5 separate regions of the Homo sapiens genome follow, and regions 2, 3, 4 and 5 are each linked to region 1. Evidence: promoter capture Hi-C in 16 types of primary human blood cells and fetal thymus (Javierre and others, 2016). All regions are on one chromosome and are shown on one strand. Each heading gives the region's core, a stretch centred on a gene start or on the middle of the fragment in contact. The rest is flanking DNA. Distances are from core to core; before and after follow the strand shown.

Evidence for each region. Contacts are between HindIII fragments. The CHiCAGO score rates a contact against its expected background, and 5 or more counts as called.
Region 2: a fragment that was not itself captured here is called in contact with the fragment with the promoter of HHIPL1 in region 1 in 1 of 17 cell types (endothelial precursors); the score reaches 5.3 in endothelial precursors.
Region 3: a fragment that was not itself captured here is called in contact with the fragment with the promoter of HHIPL1 in region 1 in 7 of 17 cell types (endothelial precursors, total CD4 T cells, M2 macrophages and 4 more); the score reaches 8.6 in endothelial precursors.
Region 4: a contact is called between a fragment that was not itself captured here and the fragment with the promoter of HHIPL1 in region 1, in 1 of 17 cell types (endothelial precursors). The highest score is 6.7, in endothelial precursors.
Region 5: a contact is called between a fragment that was not itself captured here and the fragment with the promoter of HHIPL1 in region 1, in 1 of 17 cell types (endothelial precursors). The highest score is 8.4, in endothelial precursors.

The regions. Positions count from the first base shown.
Region 1 is chr14:99,642,792-99,646,865 of GRCh38, reverse strand. HHIPL1 (HHIP like 1) reads right to left here and starts at 1,737. Exons shown (of 9, transcript NM_001127258.3): 1 at 1,404-1,737. The coding sequence starts at 1,658. The HindIII fragment of the contact is 13,444 bases long and covers 1-4,074 here.
Region 2 is chr14:99,896,246-99,900,319 of GRCh38, reverse strand. It overlaps EML1 (EMAP like 1), which reads right to left. Exons shown (of 22, transcript NM_004434.3): 7 at 3,026-3,175; 8 at 2,018-2,087. Among named protein-coding and RNA genes, the nearest start is that of EML1, 100 kb to the right of the region's middle. The HindIII fragment of the contact is 7,299 bases long and covers 1-4,074 here.
Region 3 is chr14:99,874,102-99,878,175 of GRCh38, reverse strand. All of the region lies in intron 3 of EML1 (EMAP like 1), which reads right to left. Among named protein-coding and RNA genes, the nearest start is that of EML1, 83 kb to the right of the region's middle. RefSeq lists an enhancer at 1,194-1,746. The HindIII fragment of the contact is 2,213 bases long and covers 1,114-3,326 here.
Region 4 is chr14:99,852,070-99,856,143 of GRCh38, reverse strand. The region is part of intron 2 of EML1 (EMAP like 1); the gene reads right to left. Among named protein-coding and RNA genes, the nearest start is that of EML1, 61 kb to the right of the region's middle. The HindIII fragment of the contact is 1,098 bases long and covers 1,830-2,927 here.
Region 5 is chr14:99,501,665-99,505,738 of GRCh38, reverse strand. It overlaps CCNK (cyclin K), which reads right to left. Exons shown (of 11, transcript NM_001099402.2): 7 at 3,363-3,532; 8 at 2,755-3,020; 9 at 2,095-2,128. It overlaps CCDC85C (coiled-coil domain containing 85C), which reads left to right. Exons shown (of 6, transcript NM_001144995.2): 6 at 1-4,074. Among named protein-coding and RNA genes, the nearest start is that of CCNK, 22 kb to the right of the region's middle. RefSeq lists enhancers at 2,131-2,631, 2,632-3,132. The HindIII fragment of the contact is 3,437 bases long and covers 447-3,883 here.

The DNA of each region.
Region 1 (4,074 bases), core at 488-2,987:
TATCATATTATATTATATTATATTATATTATATCATATCATATCATATCATATCATATCATATCATATCATATTATATTATATTATATTTTTGAGACGGAGTCTTGCTCTGTTGCCCAGGCTGGGGTGCAGTGGCTCAATCTTGGCTCACTGCAACCTCTGCCTCCCAGAGTCAAGTGCTTCTCCTGCCTCAGCCTCCCGAGTAGCTGGGATTACAGGAGCTCCCCAACATGCCCAGTTAATTTTTGTATTTTTGTAGAGATGGAGTTTCGCCATGTTGGCCAGGCTGGTCTCGAACTCCTGACCTCAAGTGATCTGCCCACCTTGGCCTCCCAAAGTGCTGGGATTACAGGCATAAGCCACCATACTCAGCTTCATTTTAAAGATATTGTGAGGTGCAGCAGTGACCTGCCCAGGTCACGAAGCTGGGGAAGTGACAGAGCCAGGATCAAACTCCAACTCCAAGTCAGCCTTCTTGCCCTTCCCCACACCACCTGCCCCTGCTGGCCGAAGGCTGGGACACGGCCCTGGCCCCTGGGGCCTCTCCACCCCAGGCCTCTCACTGCCCAGATGCTGAGGCAGGAATGCCTTGGGGCTGCCCGTCCTGCTCCATTTCTGCATTCAGCCAGGCAACATTTGCCCACTTGGGTGTGGTCAGGCCCTGGGGCCTCAGACTCCCACAAGAGGAAAACAAATAGCGGTGGCACCACCAGGTGTGCACAGAAGCAGGGGCTCCACCCTCAGAGGGAAGATGGGGGGCCCAGGGGCTTCAACAAAGAGCTGTCGCTCAGTCTTGAGAGAGCTTCTGCAGGCCAGGGCGCCATCCCCAGGAGAGGGCACAGCACCCACAGAGGTGGTGGCGGAAGTGGCAAGGGCATCAGGATGGGGGTGAGACGCTCGTGGGGGACAGTGGCCCCAACCCCCTCAACAAACCCGGGCCACACGTTGACCACGCCCACGCCAGGGCCCCCTGCTTTCACTGCCCCGGGGACAACACAAAGGAGCACTGACCGGGACAGATGCCTCTCCACCTTGGTACCCCGACAAGGGTGCAGCTGCTCGGGGTGGGACGCTGAGGGGTCGACTCCAGGGGACTGGGGCAGAAGAGCCCCCAACCTCTGAGGAAATGATGACATCATCTGTCCGTCCGTCCGTCCTTCCTGCTTCAGGAGGGGAAACTGAGGCCCCGAGAAGGCCCAAGTCACAAAACTAATGAATGGCAAAGCCAAGAGTCGTCCTGGGATGCGCGGTCTCCCCGCCCCGTGCCAAATGACTCCCTGTTGGGGCTTAGAGTTCCCGAGTCCGCCGCCCACTCTTGGCCCTCGCCCCCGCGGGGTTCCGATCTCTGCTCCAGGACTCGGCCTCCCGCGCCCCGCCCCGCCCGGTGGCCGCGCGCCCGCTCACCTGGCACAGCAGGTCCCTCGCGTAGCCGGCGCACGCGGCCCACTCGGCGGCGTCCACGCGGCTCGCCAGGGCCCAGAAGCGGCGGGTCAGCTCGGCGTCGCGCCCCTCATCGCAGCAGCCGAAGTCCGAGTACTGCGCGCAGAGGCGCAGCGGCTGCGTCGGCCGGAAGGGCGGCCTGAAGTCCAGGCACTGCGGATGCGCGGCGGCCCCGAGCACCCAAAGCGCCAGCAGCGCCCCGGCCCTGGCCCGGGCCATCGCTACGCCCCGCGGGGGAAGAGGCGGAGGGACGGCAGCCCCGGTCCCCTCCCGGGGCGCTCGCGGCGGCAGGGAAGGGGCGGGCGCTCCCCTTCCCTACACGCAGGGCCTCGAGTTTGGGGACCTCCCCTTCTAGGAGGTCACCTCTGGTCGGGGACACTCGGCGGGACTGAAGGAAGAGGGACGCGGCGCAGAATGCGGCACGACCTCTTTTAACCGCTTTCCAAATTCGATGGGAGTGGCCCGGTCTGTTTAAAGCCCCGGTGTGTTTTCCCGGTTCCGCCTGGGGCCCTGCTTCCTCCCCACAGGGCGCTCTTTAGCCAGGGAGGCGCAGGGCCAGAGGCCTGGACTCCTGGGCTTCGGTTCCACCTCCCACTGGGCTAGGGAAACGGATGCCCGCAGCCCGTCCCCGAAAGCTCCCACGTAACATTTTAAAAATGGGGGTGCGAGGGAAAGAACAGGGGGTGTTGCCCCAGGACTCTCAGGGAGAAGTGAAACCTGGCGTAGGGGTGGGGAGGGAGGACGGAGCAGTCTCCGCAGTCCACCCTTTGCCCTTACTGTGGGCTTCTTCCCAGTCTCTGCTCCTGGGGCAGCGGATTCTCCTGCAGCCCAGGACCCACTGGGGCTCCCCACTTCCACTCTCGCATAGGGAGCACTGATGAATCTACCTCCTGGGATGGGCATCCAGCCCTTTGTTCCGCTGCCCCCGCTGGAGATTCAGACCCAACCCCGCCCCACCCCCCCACACACATACAGACGCACACACGCTGTCTTACCTACCCCAGAATCTCATGGCACCAAAACCACCCACACAGACAAACACACACACACTGTCTCACCTACCCTAGAATCTCACAGCACCAAAACCACCCAGGCATTTTTCTCAAGTGGACCTCAGCGTTTGCTTCTCCCTGGAGTGTCCTTCCCCATCTTCTCTGTCCAGTGAGCTCCTACTCCATCTTCATGGCCCCAACGCACACATCCGTCCTCTGCAGGTCTCTTTGGACTGTCCTGGGGGATCATGTTTCTGTCTTTGGGCCCATGCTCCTGGCAGAGCTGGGGGTGGATGAGATGCGGCAGGGCTGGAGCACTCAGAGGTCTGTGGCTCTGGCCTGAACAGGTGCAGTGTAAGAGTCAGGGTCTCCGCACAGCCAAACATCTCTGAGTATTTGAAACACGGGGAATTTAACGCAGGGACTTGAAGCCAAAGAGGCTAAGAAGCCATACAGGGCTCAGTGAAGTAACCTTGAGATCAGCAACAGTAGGAACAGTCCCCAGGTCCTTGATGCAGGAAGAGCAGATGTTACTGGAGCCAAGGAGCTATGGTCACCTTGTCAAAGCTGGACCCTCACAAGGCCTGTCTGGCCACAGCTGGAGATAGCCACTGTCAGAGATTCTGCACAGACAGAGGAGGAGAAATACCCCGGCTTCTCCCTGCCACTTCCCCTCCAACTCCCACCTGTGGCTTTCATTGGCTGAACCTAGCAGAGGGCTGCTAGGGTGGGAAATGCGGCCTGCAACGGCTTCCTGCACAGACAGCTGGGAATAGGCAGAGCCAGGATGGAATCGGAGGGCACGATGGCGCCTACTTCCCAGCTGGGACTCAGAACTGGGTGATAGTCACACATCAACACAGGGCTCCAGATGAGTGTACAGAGGTGGAAGTGACACAGAGCCTGGGCCACAGCCATGAGGTTTGGGCTCCTACAGCCACAGAAAATGTCAAACACAGCCCAGCCCCAGCCAGAGTAACATAAATCCTCACCCTAATACCTATTTACCTCGGTTTCTGTTATCTAGTACATCCTGATTGGCTTTCCAGAAAAACAACAAGGCATGAAAAAAAGATAAGAAAAGTCACAGTCAGGAGCCGGGCACAGTGGCTCACGCCTGTAATCCCAGAACTTTGGGAGGCTGAGGCGGGCGGATCACCCGAGGTCAGGAGTTCGAAACCAGCCTGGTCAACATGGTGAAATCTCGTCTCTACTAAAAATACAAAAATTAGCCAGGCGTGGTGGCACGCGCCTATAATCCCAGCTACTGGGAGGCTGAGGCATGAGAATCGCTTGAACCCAGGAGGCGGAGGCTGTAGTGAGCTGAGATCGTGCCATTGCACTCCAGCCTGGGTGACAGAGCGAGACTCTGTCTCAAAAAAGAAAAAAAAAAGTCAGTCAGAAGGAGCATCAGAGCCAGCCTGGGACATGACACAGATGCTGAAATTACCAGACATGGAATTTAAAATAACTATGACTAATATGTTAAGGGCTCTGGTGGAAAAAGTTGACAACATCAAGACCAAACATCTCTGAATATTGACAAGGACATTGGCAAGGACAAATGGGTAATAGAAGCAGAGAGGGGTCCACTTTAAGAAAAAAAATGAAGGCCGGGCACAGTGGCTCATGCCTGTAACCCC
Region 2 (4,074 bases), core at 568-3,067, 250 kb before region 1:
GCTACTTGGGAGGCTGAGGCAGGAAATCGCTTGAACCCGGGAGGTGGAGGTTGCAGTGAGCCAAGATTGCACTACTGCACTCCAGCCTGGGCAACAAGAGCAAAACTCTGTCTCAAAAAAAAAAAAAAAAAAAAAAAAGAGCTTAATATTCTTGGGCAAAACAGGCATCAATTATGTACAAATAAGATTTAGAATTGTTATAATTGGTTTAAAATCCTCTCAACTGTGTTCCTAGGTTATTTACGCTAATTTTTCTCTTCCTTAATAGAAGAAAACATCATAGAGCAATCAGTAGATTTATCAGTAAGAAAAGGTGCTGGCCTTGGACCTAGTAGAAACACTAGGCAGGCGTTAGGTGAACCAAGTTCTAGTTCAGTCTAATCTCTAAGCAGCTGGGTGTCCGCGGGCATTCACTAGGCCTCTCTGGATTTCTCTATGGGTAAACTGAAAGATAACTATAATATTTTTCTCTAGTTCTAAAGTACCGATTCAATTTCAATGCCAGAAACTGAAATATACTTTTAAGCCACTAGAGGGAGGAACAAATAGCTTACCACTAATTTCAAAGAATTTTTCAAAGCCATTTAACATTAAAAAAAAAAAAATTGAAAGACCCATTCAATTTAAGTAAATTTATTTACATAATAGTGGTCTGATTTCCATTATTTCTGTTAACTCTTTTCAAGTATAAAATATTAATGCAGGTCAGGCGCAGTGGTTCACGCCAGTAATCCCAGTACTTTGGGAGGCTGAGGTGGGCAGATCGCTTGAGCCCAGAAGTTTGAGACCAGCCTGGGCGATGTGGTGAAACGCTGTCTCTACCAAAAATACAAAAATTAACCGGGCGAGGTGGCGTGTGCCTGTACTCCCAGCTACTCAGGAGGCTGAGGTGGGAGGATCACTTGAGCCTGTGGGGGCAGAGGTGGCAATGACCCGTGATTGTGCCACTGCATTCCAGCCTGGGTGACAGAGTGAGACCCTGTCTCAAGAAAAAAAAAAAAATTAATGGAAAATAGCATAAGATTAATATTTAAAATCCAATGTTACTAAAATATTTTCTGAAATATGGTAGTATTCATTTTTTCTGGATGAAAACATGTTGATAAAATGTATGTACTTAAATTAGTTTCAGATAAAATATTATGCAATAACAAGCTATATAAAAGTAGATATCAAAAAAGCTACAAGCTCCCTCTCTAACGCCTTAAAATGCAAATTAAAGTCTTGCTGAAGTGCTTGCAAAATCTGTGCTAAAAACCTCCTAGTAGCTTTTGTGACTGCACACAGACACAAACTTCACGGGTTAAAGTCACGACTGTTAAACGACATTCACAGGACAGGGCAGAGGGTGGCTGAAATTTGGCAAAATGTTGTACATTCAAATTATTATTATAATTTTAACTTTATTAAATGTTTACCTTCATATTTTTAATACTTATCATATAAATAAACATTTTAAGAATTAGCGAATTCTTTGTTCAGAACAATGCTATTTAAAAATCTGATGAAATTAAGATGAGCTCCAGGGATTTTTAAGGTCACAGTCAGTATTTTTTTTTTTTTTTTTTGAGACTTAGTCTCTCTCTGTCACCCAGGATGGAGTGCAGTGGCATGATCTTGGCTCACTGCAACCTCCGCCTCCCGGGTTCAAGTGATTCTCCTGCTTCAGCCTCCAGAGTAGCTGGGACTACGGTCATGTGACACCACGCCTGGCTAATTTTTGTATTTTTGGTAGAGACGGGTTTCACTATGTTGGCTAGGCTGGTCTCAAACTTCTGACCTCAAGAGATCCAGCCTGCCTTGGCATCCCAAAGTGCTGGGATTACAGGCGTGAGCCACCGCACCCTGCCACACAATAAGTCTTCTAATTTACAATAAAAAATTCTAGTGAGGGGTTCAGAAGTTTTCAGATACCATAATTATATCTAAGCAGCCTTACTCAGCAGCACAATGTTTTCTAAAAATTACTTTGTGTTACCAGTTCATTATGAAACAATGAAAAGGTAACGTAACTCACTTTTCCATCCTTCGATGTGCCCGCAACTTGTCCTGTTGCTATCGTGATCCGATCAGGATGAACTGCTAGGCTAAGAAAAGGATATTTACAAAACATCTACATGTTGCAGGTAAGTTTTACTTTTCCCTTGCTCAAATATAATCTAGTCAAAAATTTAAATATAAGAAATATATAATGCCTAACTTCTTACAGACTCATGACAAATTCTCTGAGCACCACGACGTTAGACAACTAGTACCTAATTCATTTCATCTTAATTCCCTTATTTCTTCTTAAGAATTTTCAAACTGAAGGAAAAAGCATCCTCTGCTGGGAAAATACCATTTCAATCTCAGAACCACTACATTAGTCTACAATCTTTATTAAAAAGTCATGTTGAGTACATAAATAGGAAAGATACCATCTTTCGTGAACAGGATTTTTATCATTGACCAAGGAACCAGGACAAATACAAATATATAAATCCATCTCTTCACGCATCCATCCTTCCAAGATATGTAATATGCCTACCAAAAGCTATAAATGAATTATGGGAAGAGCCGACTCAGCCACAAACATGAGGCAACACATTTTTATGTTTATCAAAAAATAAAGACCCAAATTAGAAGCCTTTAATACATGATGTGTTAAGAAGGCCTCCAAAGAGGTGGCGCTGTTTGTTGAGACAATGTGGTCCGTGAAGCTCATGCGTTGGTGAGGCTGGAAAATTAAACATGAGAGGGGTCTCACGGAGCGCAGTAGTGAGCGGACCACAAGGAGACCACACAGAAGAGCTCTCCCAAAGACCTCATTTCCTCAGACCCTCTTCCTTCTCTTTAGTTATGTCCCAATACTGACCGTGTTCTGCTAATGCTATTTCCACCTGTGCAACAGGAATCACATTTATTTATTTATTTATTTTAGAGACAGGGTTTCACTGTTGCCCAGGATGGTCTGGAACTCCTGGCCTCAAGCGATCCTCCTACCTTCGCCTTCTGAGTCGCAGGAATGACCTGTTTCAGGACTTACCACTTCACGTCATCGTTGTGGCCAGCGTAATGCCTCTGCAGTTGCTCCTCCACGTTGTATAACACCACCACGGATGCGATGAAGTAGACGGTCTCTCCCGTCGGAAGCAAGTACAGGTTGTTACGGCAGTCTCGACCCCTGTACCCATAGCTTTGTGGATGTCAAGATAAAATTTTTTTTCCCTTTAAGAGCTGACAAAACATCAGCTTTATTCAACAGGCACAGGCAATAAAATACCATATAACTATTACCATCAGCATCACTAATTTAAACAACATTAAATTGCAAATATTCCATGACAAATACATGTGACCCCCAAAAGGCATGCAGTAAAGTTGAAACAGTCATTGATGTAATGTGAATACATATTTTCACAATGATTTGGTTTTATTTTTAGAAAGCTATTGAGTCAATTATTAATTTTTTTACTGTAATCTACGAGCTAAATTTTTACTAAAAAATTCCTTTTTTAAACATGGTAAAAGTACTTACAAAGGGTACAAATGACACACACACATGCACACAAACATACATAAAAGGTAAAAAAAAAAAAATCAGGCCCCTCAGATCCTTTGGGATAAGAATCCCTGTTAAAATTTTTGCATTATATTTCCAAACCTTGAAAATTATTTTATTTTGAGAACAAAATATCACTTCAACTTGGATGTAAAAAGTAACCCGGCAAGATGCCAAATAATGGCCAAAAAAATGCCATTTATTTAGAGCAAATTTCATTGCTTTACATCTTCTAAAATATGAACAGGAAGTAGGCTGAATAAATGTTTTGAATAATGTTTTCCAGATGTGATATAACCGTTTAATAAACCACTACTGACTTAAAGACGAGCTGAAGCACTTCAATTTCATGTATCAAGATAGATTCCAAAACAGGTGCAGGTAAATGCCTATGACATTTGAATCTGGAAAAAAAAAAAGTATTTTGGGGGAGAAATTTAGGTACAGGTGGTAATTTTAAAAAATTTCTAAGGAATATGATTCCATAATCTCAAATAGTAATTATTCTAAATGAAGTCACAATAGCTTAAATT
Region 3 (4,074 bases), core at 971-3,470, 230 kb before region 1:
TCACTTTCCAGGGATGTCCAATCTTTTGGTTTCCCTGGGCCACATTGGAAGAAGAATTGTCTTGGGCCACATATAAAATATACTAATGCTAACGATAGCCGACGAATTAAACAAAAAAAAAATTGCAAAGAAAATAGAGTATTAAGAAAGTTGACAAATCTGTGTTGGGCCACATTCAAAGCTGTCCTGAGCCACACAAGGCCCATGGGCCCATGGGTTGGACAACCTTGGTCCAGATGGTGGTGTGCAACCCGGGGGGATGGTGCCCCCAAGACATCTGGCAATGTCTGGCGACATCCTTCTGTTGCCACAGCTGGGGAGGGACTGCTACTGCCATGTAGTGGGTGGAGACCCGGGGTGCGGCTAGAAATCCTGCATGGCCCGGGATGGCTCACTCCACAAAGTAGCACCTGGCCCCAGACGTCGATAGTGCTGAGGTTGAAGAAATCTGGCCTAAAGGCAGGCGTGGGACAAATGCTAACAGGACGTCACGAGTAACGACAGAAACGTTCCACCCTGTGTACAATGCCTTTGTTTGGAGGTGGTGTCCATGTTAAGCGGCCAACTTCATTCATAGGACAAGAGGGACTAGAGTGCTCAGAGGCCTGGGAAGGCAGCCTGGGGAAGTCTTCCCAAAGACTGCGAAATTCCGGGAAAGATCAAATGAATGGCTTGAATGTGTTGTTATGACACAGATGGAAAGAGCCTGCTCTAGGAGAAGGGATCCCCTATACACAGGGGATTCGTAGGCATGAGGGGTAAACCAGAGCCCAGGTATGGAGTGGAGGCTGATTGTTCCCCTCTTAGAGCACACTATGGACTGTTTGTATTCCCCAAATTCATGTGTGGAAACCCTAACCCTCAATGTGATGGTGTTAGGGGGTGGGGCCTTTGGGAGGTGATGAGGTCAGCAGGGTGAAGCCCTCATGAGTGGAATTAGTGCCCTTATGGAAGAGGCCCAGAGAGCTCTCTTACCCTTTTCCACCATGTGAGAAGATGGCCGCCTGCAACCTGGAAGACAGCCCTCATCAGAACCTGACCATGCTGGCCCCCCTGGTCTCGGACTCCCAGCCTCCAGGATGGTGAGACATATATTTCTGCTGTTTATAAGCTTCCCAGTCTATGGACTTTGTTACAGCAACCCAAACTCACTAAGACAGAGCACATAACTCTAGTATAGGTATCTCTGTACATACTTAAAAATCTACATCATTAGTCCACGCATTTCTTGAGATCTTATCTCATTTATCATTTTCGTAGCTTTGCAGAGCCCTATACAAAAGTTTGGTACACATTTATTAAATGAAAGGATGAAATAAATGGAAGTATCACACACTGACCCTGTCACCAGAAGAGACACAAACTGCTTTAATGCAGCACCTGCTCTGTAAGCAAAAAAGGAGGAGGGGAGGGGCAGGCAGGGGGCTGTTCTAGGGCCAGGGCTCTGGGAACACACACAGACTTGGGTGGCTCTAGTCTTGACACTTGGAGCTGGAGGTGTGGGTGGGTGAGAATACAAGCCTGCAACACGCGAGACAGCTCAGGACAGACTCTATCCATCTGGCGGGTGCTGAGCCACGGATGCAGAGGAAATCACCGAGGGAGGAGGTGACCAAGGACAGAAGAGCCCTGGGGAAACTAATGTTTAAAGACGTGGGCTGAGAAGCTACCACAGGAGTCAGAGGTAGCAGCGACACCAGGAGAGAAGGAGTGGTGCGCAAAGGCTAGCGCAGGATTAGGTAAATGTGCTGGTGCTGCACAGAGGAGGGGGTGAGCCCTGGGAAGTGGGGAGTCTCAGGCGGCGCCAGTGGGCACAGCTTCAGTGAAGGGTGCACGGGGACCAGATCTCAACAAGGAGCACGCAGGAGCTGAGGAACTTAACACAGCAAGACCCCTGCGCCTGCACTGAAGCTCAACGTCCTCCCTCCTCATAAGTAAATGACAAGCCTCCCATCCAGGCAGCTCCTGCCTGGGGCTGGCCACTCTCCTTCTTGGTAGCCAGTGACTCTCTCCTCTCTTCCTTCCTTCCCCTCTCTGTCTCCTCTGTCTATACACCCTCCTTAGCTCAACTTTCACTCTTCCTTCCTTTGCAACTTCCAGTGGCTCAGTTAGTAATCTCCAAGCAGGTTTTTAAAAACCCTCATGGTATGCTGGCTTTGAAATCACTCTCAGGGTGATTATCTGAATACACTTTCCACATAGTCTTTTTGTTAACTGGGGAACCCCTGAGTGGACAGTGCCAGAATCTTACAACTGCAATCTGCAGGGTGTGCCTTAAGGTCAAAATGTGTGTTTTTAGAATGCTCAATTTGGGGACAAGGAAATTACAGATTTTAAGAGAGCATTACATTTCTGAAATTTGGGATTAAAGTCTAAAAATTATAGGAGCCTTTGTGCTTCAAGTTCAAGATGTTCCCATGACGACAAACACCAAGCTAATTTGACTTAGCAGGATTATTCTCCGCCCAGTCTTTAGTACAAGGCTCTGATGCACACTTTGCCCAACCAGCTGCCGGGGCCCTGGGAGATTTTGCAGCCGCAAGAAGAGCCCAGAGCACAGCTTCTGGGGCGTCCTTGTGGGAGTTCATGGCAAGTTCATAGCAACTTAAAGAACTGTATAAAACACCCTTAAAGAGCTGAAAAACCACAACTGTTCATCAATTACAGCAAACACTAACTGATTTTCTAATAATTAACACTCAACCTGGTGGCTGGAAGAGTTCACGGGGGTGCCAGTGATGAAAACTGCAGCAGCAGCAGCCACAGTTAACGTTTAAGGCATACTCTGGACTTTTACATATACTGTATTACTTAATTCAAACCTCACAAATCCCCTGCAGCAATATCATTATCCTCATTTTACAGATGAAGAACCGAATTCAGGAGTGTGAAGCAACTTGTTTGGGGTTACAGCAAGTGGTGGGGCTGGTGACTTCAACCCTGTGTTCTCTCTATTAGGCCCCTAATTAACACCATCTGCAATTTATGAACCGCCAAAGTATACTGTTTTGGAGGACCAGTTGAGCATCTAAAAAAACAATAAATGTCAATGATTAATATAGTTACATGATTGATGACTTGATGAATGGTAGGCACTGGACAAGACCTTGAAGCTACTACGTTAAAACAGAGATGGAAACAATGGAAGGAACAGCTATGGTGACAAAGTAAATCTAAGTTCCCCTCACCTTGGTGTCGATCTATTCAGTTTGCAAGCATTGAGAAGACTCACAGATCTGTTTAATCTACATATAAGAGGCACAGAAATAAAGCAGAATAAATGTGAGTGCAATTAATAAAAGCGTGGAAAAGTATTTTGATAAGCTTCAGTAAATTGCAGGACGCACACATCAAAATCGAAAGACATTTTGGTTCGCAAATATAGACGTGGATATAATCCTTCACAACTCTTCCAAGATATTTGTCATTCCCATATTTGCATTAAAATGTTAAACTTTTTAAAAAAATCTTACTGTTGTCCCAGACGTAGAATAAAAAACAAGACATTTCCTTTTGAGAACCAAGGGCTCTTATGAATTAAAGAGGATTTACTAGGACTCAAAGTGAAGGACAGAAAATAAAGCTTAAAGACAAGACATTTGCAGTAACAAGGGCAGCCAGAGAGAGCAATACCGTACACTCACTGCAGGAAGCCTCCTCAAATAACCAGCAGGGAATATCAAAGAAGCTATGTTCTCTCTGGACGGCGAGTGAAAAATAATGCTCTTTATTTTGAAAGTGGTAGAAGTACTGGCTTGTGAGAGACTGTGCAATAATGCAGTATATTTTTTAGTGCTTAAGGCAAGTATTTTTTGTATAGAAATGCATAGACATCACCACTTATTTTGTTTTCCCTTCTGCTCTCTGTCCGCACACCCAAACCTGCAACCTTGTAAGTTATGAAAATAAATGGTTCTTTATATTACATTGCATATGCATTCAACAATTTGTGCCACTTAACACTTTAGACATAATAAAATTTCTGCAGGGAGACTGGTGACCATAAGAAAAACAGATGTCTTTCTTCTTATGGTTAATAAGAATTCTAAGCATAAGAAGCTACAATTAGGTTTT
Region 4 (4,074 bases), core at 1,129-3,628, 210 kb before region 1:
AACCTCCCAGAGGTTTCATTCTCATCTATAAAATGGGCACAATGATAGTTGCCTCACAGAAACGTGGAGGGGTGAAATGAGTGAATACATCCAAAATGTCTGCTGCAAAGTCCAGCCCTTAGTCAATCAATACATGGTACCTATGAGTAGTATTCTGAATATCAGTGTTAAGTGCCAGTGTAGCACAGGCTTCTCACAGCTAAAAATCTGTAGTTGGCTTTTGACAGTGGTTGCAGAGGCTATGTACTGAGGCTAGAGGGTTTTGATGTCTTGGAATGACAGGACTGACTTGCTTATTAACCTCCCCAACAGAAGCCTTCTGGTTATATTTAGTAATTCTCTGATCCATTAATTAATGAAGCCAATAATTATTATAATTCTTTGATATTCTAATTCATAGATCCACTAGTTGGTATAACTGATTGTAAAAGTTGCAAAGGCATATTAAAGTATTTCATATTAAAGTACTTTAAAAGGGAAGCTGCCTAACTAGTCTGAACAAACAAGCAAAATTTCAAATGGGAAATATGAGCTACTCACTGGTTAATGCATAACAAAATAGACAATCCCAGATACATGGCACAATGACTATATTTTCATCTACATTTTACATTTTAAAAATCCCTGCACTAAAATGAAAATCAGCTGTGTGTGTATACAATGGATTGATTGAACTCCAAACTACTCCCTGTCTTCTTGAAAACACATGTGAGTAAACCCCTGGCCTCCTGACATTTGCCATGAGCCCTGCTGTTGACCTCAGATTCAATGCAAAGAAAGAAGTGATTTTTTAGAACACAAATTTCTTCTGCTTATTAAGAAATACACACCACAGAACATTTAGAAACTAACTAAAAGTATTTAAAAATTCATAATCCTATTACTCAGGAAAAAACCCGTGAATTACTTTTGCTATACAGTACTTCATTCCAGTCTTCTTTGCATAAATTTTGTCTATTTAGTTGAAATGATACAGTATATACAGTTTTATAGCCTGCATTTGACTCAATGTAATGCGTAAGCATTTTCCCTCTTGTACCAGTAACACAAACATTTTTAAAGACCACACAGCATTTAATCATATGGAGGCACCATCATCTCCTGGCCATGCCCCTACTGCTTGCTGCTCCCTTATTGTTTCCTATCCAGTTTTTCTCCGTTGCGCACAGTGCTGCAATGAATTCCCTTACTCATCCATCATTTGTCTGTATTTACGGTCACAACAGCAATATCTAAGGGGTCTGTTCACTGTATTCTGCTACCAGAGTATTGCCCCACTCCAACCACAACTCTGAAACACTTCCGTATTAGCAAGAATTTTAATACAGCCCTTCGTGAACGATTTGATTCTCTTTTCTCCACTACATGGTAATCCAAGCTCAGCAAAGTGGAAACATTCCAAGTCATTCTATCCAAGAGTAAATCCAACATGAACCAAGCCAGCTTTATGGGCTGAGGTTCACCACAGTGAAGGTGTGTGATATGGTAGCCGGTTCTTCCTATTTTAAAAAATATCAAAGGAAAAGGAGAAAGCAGAGTCTGGGGAGCTCACAGAGACTGAGGAAATCCTAAGACCCAGAGCAGTATCCTCAAGGGAAAGAAGACCTGGGTAACTGGTGCAAGCAGGCCAACCGCAGGGACAGGGGAACAAGTGACAGCTCCCTCTCTACAGAATACCTATCCACAGGCCCAGCACATTACAGTGGGCCACAATCTCATCCCATTTCAGGAAGCCTTGACCTTAGCTGTCAGTGAATTATTTCCATGAACCTGCAGTTCTCATCGTTATACTAGTCAAGGCATATGAAGAATGATAGTCAGCCAAAGCTTAGAGGTCATGATAACATTCTTCAAATAAGTGGAGTATTATTGTGGAAAGGAATCAGAATGATTATCTATGGCTCCACAGGTACTGCTGAGGCCAGTGAGTGTTGACTGCAGTCTAAAAACTAGCTAGCGGCTACGGCAGCAGAAAGACACGCGCTCTTCCCGCACTGGCTTTGAGCAGGACCCCCAGTGAGTACCTGCCTGCTTCTTGGTGGCACAGCCACGCCCAGCATTGGGCAGACAGCAAAAGCTGTACACCCAAACCTCAACATACTGAGTGAGACCTAAGCATTAAAAAACTAACTGTGGGGGAAAAAATCATTTGATATTTAAAAATAAGAATGCAGGTCAGATGCGGTGGCTCATGCCTGTAATCCCAGCACTTTGGGAGGCCGAGGCAGGCGGATCACCTAAGGTCAGGAGTTCAAAACCGGCCTGGCCAACATGGTGAAACCCCGTCTCTACTAAAAATACAAAAAAATTAGCAGGTGTGGTGGCGTGTGCCTGTAGTCCCAGCAACTCGGGAAGCTGAGGCTGGAGAATCGCTTGAACCCGGGAGGCGGAGGTTGCAGAGAACCAAGATCACGCCACTGCACTCCAGCTTGGGTGACACAGCAAGAATCTGTCTCAGAAATAAAAATAAGAATGTCATGTGTCCAGGCTACTTCAAGTCTATATGAGCATGGCAGGCCAAAATATTATGAAGTGATAATTGTGTGGCCACTTAAAACCAAAGGAGATTTGCCTAAAATCCATCTTGCCTAAAAGACTCCCCACCCCAACCATGACCACAGAGAGCCAGCTCTAAAGACAGACAGAGGTGTGGGCACCAGTTCCCAAGTGCCCACGTGGCAGCTGCCTCAAAGATGAGCACAGCCAGGGCAGCTGCTGCAGGCACACCCCTCCCACGGGCACACCCCTCCCGTGGGCATGCCCCTCCCACGGGCACGCCCCTCCTGCCCCTGTTTCCACTGTGCTCTAATTAGCTGCACAGAAAGTAGAGAGCCCAAGGTCCCTCCACTCAGGGGATGCAGCCCATTCACCTGCTTTCTTGTGAATCTTTTTTTTACTTCTTGGTGTGACCTTCTGGCAACTAAGCTTTGATTTGCTTACAGTTAGAAAAAGAATGTTTATAAAGAAATATCAGATGACTATGAAAACATTTATTTTTCTGTGCAGTTATGAAATTCAAATCATTCTTAATCAAGAAAACAAAACTCTTGGGCACACCCTGTTATTTTCTTCCTGTAGTTTTCTAAAAATAAGGAAGTTTTAGAGGTCTGAAGATTTATATAAAACAGCTCCTTCAAATGTACCCTTTCAGACACAGCAGTCATCAGATTTATTTTTGGAAAGCTGGTAGGTCAAGAATACTTAAAATAATGCGGTTTCTATTTAAAATACCTGAATCACTTTGTAACTCAGGAGGAAAAAAGATTACTTAAAATGATTATTCAAAATGCAGACATCAGCCCAACAGGTGTAGCCAGCCATCTCACACGAAGCTGGTGATAACATCTGGGATGACAAAGAAATTGATTTCTTCCCACAGATGTGTGGAAATGCAGCCAAGTACTTGAGAAAAAAAAACTCAAAGACGCAACCTTAGACAGTCCTCCCTCCCAACTCTAAGGAAAATACACATTAACTGTGAAATAATTTGTTAAATTGAAATAACAATGAAAGGTATTCCTTTTGTTTGTTTTTGTTTTGAGATGGGGTCTTGCTCTGTCACCCGGCTGGAGTGCAGTGGTGCTCTCTGCAGCCTTGGCCTCCTAGGCTCAAGCAATCCTCCTACCTCAGCCTCCTGAGTAGCTGGGACCACGGGCACTTGCTACCACATCCAGCTAATTTTTAAATTTTTTGTAGGGATGAGGTCTCACTATGTTGCCTAGATGGGTCTTGAACTCCTGGGCTCAGGTGATCTGACCGCCTCAGCCTTCCAAAGTGCTGGGATTACAGGCGTGTGCCACTGTGCCCAGCCAATGAAAGGTATTTTTAAAGGAACATCTAAATGTTGTAATCTCAAAAAACGTTTTAGCCAAAGGCATCTTACAGCCAAGACGAATTCTCTTTTCTACAGTTAGTCACGAGGAAGAGTGATTCTGGCTAAAGACGAGCCATTTGCAAGTTCATGTAGACATGAGGGCGCCAGCTAGCTGGACAGAAATTGTTAGGAGGCGTTTTATTTCCAACATTGTCTAATTGTCTAATTCCATTATCTTCTAAGAAGATAATGACAACATT
Region 5 (4,074 bases), core at 916-3,415, 140 kb after region 1:
ACCATAGGTGTGGCGCCACCACGCCGAGCTGATTTTTAAGTTTTGTGTAGTGATGGGGTCACCCTATGTGGCCCAGTCTGGCCTGGAACTCCTGGGCTCAAAGCATGCCTTGGCCTCCCAAAGTGCTGGGATTACAAGTGTGCCAGGAACCACTTTAACAAGAAAAAGGAGCACTCCAGCCTGCATTAACAGAGCAAGACTCTGGAAATAAAAGGAAAAAGGATAAAATTTATTTAACCCGATAGATCGAAAATTTTATTTCAACATGTAACCAATATAAAGCTTTACTAATGAGATGTCTTACGTTCTCCTTTCTTGGAAATCTCTGTGTATTTTGCATTGTCAGTGCTTCAGAATTTGACCCAGTCACATTTCGAGTGCTTGCAGCCCTCTGCAGCCAGTAGCCTTCGGCATGGCACAGTGCAGCTGAGTTCCTCTATAAAGCTTCCTCCGGATCTGCCCTTCCTGCCCCGCAGCCAGCATGCTGAGGCCACCATGTTTCCCATGAGTGCCAGCAAGATTCTCCCCATTCCTAACCACTTGCCCTATTTACTGCTGCCAGGGGACTCCTTCTCAAATGAATTTAGACTCTGCCATTCCCCTGCTAAATCTCCAATGGCTTCCCTTGCCTCTGCCAAACTCACAGTCCTCCAGGTAAACTCTGTGATCTGGTCCTAACCCACATTTTAGATCCTATCAGAAGCTATTGCCTTTCAATTCATCACATTCCAGAAAGACTCCTCTCCATTTCCCCTGATTCTCAATTCCTTTGCTCACTTGCGTACTTCCAACTTATTGCTCCATCCTCCCCCTCTGCTCTCGCTGCTCAAATGCAACTCTTCCTTCAAGGTCATATATAGTTTGTTTCCTGCCTCTGACAGACCTGCACGTCAACTCAATTGCATTTCATGTGGCATGGAGTGTAGCCCGTTCTTGTGTCTAACATTTAATGTCGGTCAATTTGAAGCTAATTAAAAAATTCACCTGTAGGCTGGGCACGGTGGCTCATGCCTGTAATCGCAGCACTTTGGGAGGCTGGGGCGAGCAGATCACCTGAGGTCGGGAGTTTGACACCTGCCTGACCAACATGGAGAAACCCTGTCTCTACTAAAAATACAAAATTAGCCAGGCCTGGTGGTGCATGCCTGTAATCCCAGCTACTCGGGAGGCTGAGGCAGGAGAATTGCTTGAACCCAGGAGGCGGAGGTTGTGGTGAGTTAAGATTGCACCGCTGCACTCCAGCCTGGGCAACAAGAGTGAAACTCTGTCTCAAAAAAAAAAAAAAAATTCACCTGTACTGAACTCATCATTCCCTCAAATATACTGGAAAAAAAAAAAAAGTAGCTCTATCATAACTGGAAGATTTCACAGCAGTTTAATGAATGGAACTAAGAACCGAGAACATGGTTCTAAGAACCAGGAACTACTGGAACTAAGAACCAAGTAACAAAGAAAGACAAATGAGTCAATAGGGTCTGTGCCTTCAAAGAGTTCAGTATGATAGGTGGACTGACCCTGTGACAAAACATTTCTAACTTTCTGTTTTGTAATTGTTCCAATTTTGCTCACTCCTTCTGTTTATTTCCAATATTGACATGAACTAACTTTGGGTTCTAGACATGTGACAGCACCTCAACCCAAGTGTGTTTCAAAGAGGCCTTGCCTGCAAGGGCAGCTGGGCTGGGCCGGGCTGGTGCTGTCCGGGCAGCACACCACCCCCTACTGCCCCCCCGCATCTGCTGTGGCTTGGTGCTTGGGAGAGGACTCCTGCTGCTGTGATGGGGGTAAATAGTCTCTAAAAATAAAATTGCAGCAACAGTTCTCCTACAGCCATAATTATACTTTTATATATGTTACTGAGTACATTTTTATTGCCAGTAATGTTTTCTGTACTGATAGCTTCGTAAGAGCACAATTTTAGAATCTATGATCAGGTGATGAACAGAAAGACAATGCTGATGGAAAAGTTTTGTATGAGCTCTAAAGTTAAGATTTAAGGCCAATTTAGATCTGAAAAGAAACAATGTTGGCTAAGAATTTAAAGTTTTGCATATAAACACATAAAACTAAAAAAACATCAGAACAGGAAATTACCTGCTGCTTTGTTCTCTTCTTTGGGAGAAACAACCTGTTACAAAAGAAAATACACAATTGTTAACTGGGATCCTGAGTATGATGAGAAAAAAATGGATTATCCAGGTACCACCAGAATCAGCGACGGCAGTCACTGTGAACAGCCTCGGACAAAAATTATTTCTAGCCTGAACTTTCAGGGCAAACCACGGCACCTACCAGATCATCATTTCTGCTCCCTTCCTCTTTCCATTTACCAAATAAGACAGAATGACTAGCTTTCCTGAATGGTGAGTTCTGAGTAAACACTAAGTTTCAGGACCACTTGGGTGCAGGAAACGGTCCACTGTTTGGGGTCAGGCAGCTGCACAGAAGCAGCATGCACAACGACACTGCTAGGACACGGCAACGACACCGACAGGCTTCAGAACCCTGGCAGGGATGAAACAGGCAGCAGGGCTGGAGCCGGGCAGAGAGCCCCCTCCTGGTTCTCAGAGGCAGCCTGTCCTTGGAGCACCTTTGTTTTCAGGCTCCCCACCGACAAGCAGTCGGACTGCGAGTTTCGGCGAACACCCCCTGCTTCCGGTGTTCCCTGTGCTCGCTTAGAAATGGGAACAGTGCTCAGGTGTTGCCGCCACCTGGAAAGCCTGCTCTACCCAGGGCCTGCTTTAGCCCACTCACCACGGCTCGCTTAACCTGTCGGGGAGAACTGGGCTGCGGAGAGGGTTTCTTGGGCTGTTGGGCTGGCTGCTGCTGCTGGGCTGGTTGCTGGGGGTCCTTCTGCTGGGGCTGGGATGGTTCGGAGCTTTGAGACGGCTGTGACTGCTGTACTTGCGGCACTTGTGGTGTAGGCTGAAGAGATGGGGGCTGTTGCAGCTGATGGGGGGTGTGATGAGGCATCTGTTGTTTTCCTTGTGAGTAAAGATCCAGGATTTGGTGGCAGATGTCTAAATGATAGCCAACAATTACATTTTACACAAATTGGTATTTTAAATAAAATTTTACCTGGATAAAGAATCAGTTATGATACCCCTACGAGGACCTAAGCATGAATCACATTTACAACTCACCCCATCTTCGTTGTGTGCAACACTGGTGTGTATTTTTAGTTTACCAAAAGTATGTGTTTGGACAAAGTGGAAACTATTAGATAATTTAATTAATGATGCTTCTGAAATATTGCTCACATATGTCTATCTGGGAAAATCCATTCTTGGGACTCAGGGTACACATGGAAGAATCATCTCAACATGGAACACCCTCACGAGAACGCTTAGCATGCCTGGTACCTTCCAAAACGTCGACCGGGACATCTTGAACAAACTGCTCCCACCATCTCCTATACATGGGTTTGGAGGTCCATTCTTGTATTTCAAATTTGCACAAACGTCCTGCGAGATACATCACTGCTACTGCTATGATCTCTGGTTCCCACTGCAGTGACAAGGTGGTGCAGAGACTAGTTCAACAAGAAAAAAAAAGGTTAGATAATATGATCTAATATTTATGATTAAACCAGTGCATGGAGATGCCATAACTAACCATTAATTTGCTTATTCTCCCCTAAATTTAATTAAAGTACTATAAATAAATAAACTCAAGTCTTTACTCTTCTAAAGGTACCCGACTAAGTTACTTTAACCATAGTTAGTAATTTCTCTATTCCTTAAAGAATCAGAAGAATTCTAGCACATCCAAAAATTGCTACACCAATGAAAATGACTTATGTTATTTAAACTGTTGAAATCCTAGCCACTCAACTGTTTCTTCAAATGAAATCTTATGGAGGAAGTCAAATGTAAGAGAAGCTTCACTGACTGCAGTGGGATGGGGCTGGCAGCAACTCCATTCACAGGCATTCTGTTTCCCACCACGGCCCCTCATTAGATCCCTGGCCTCTCAAAAGAGTGTTAAGGCTCTAAAACTATACCAGGAAGTATATTTTTGCAAAACCAAATGGGCTCTAAGTAATTAGTTTTCAAAATTCTCCAGTGTATTGTT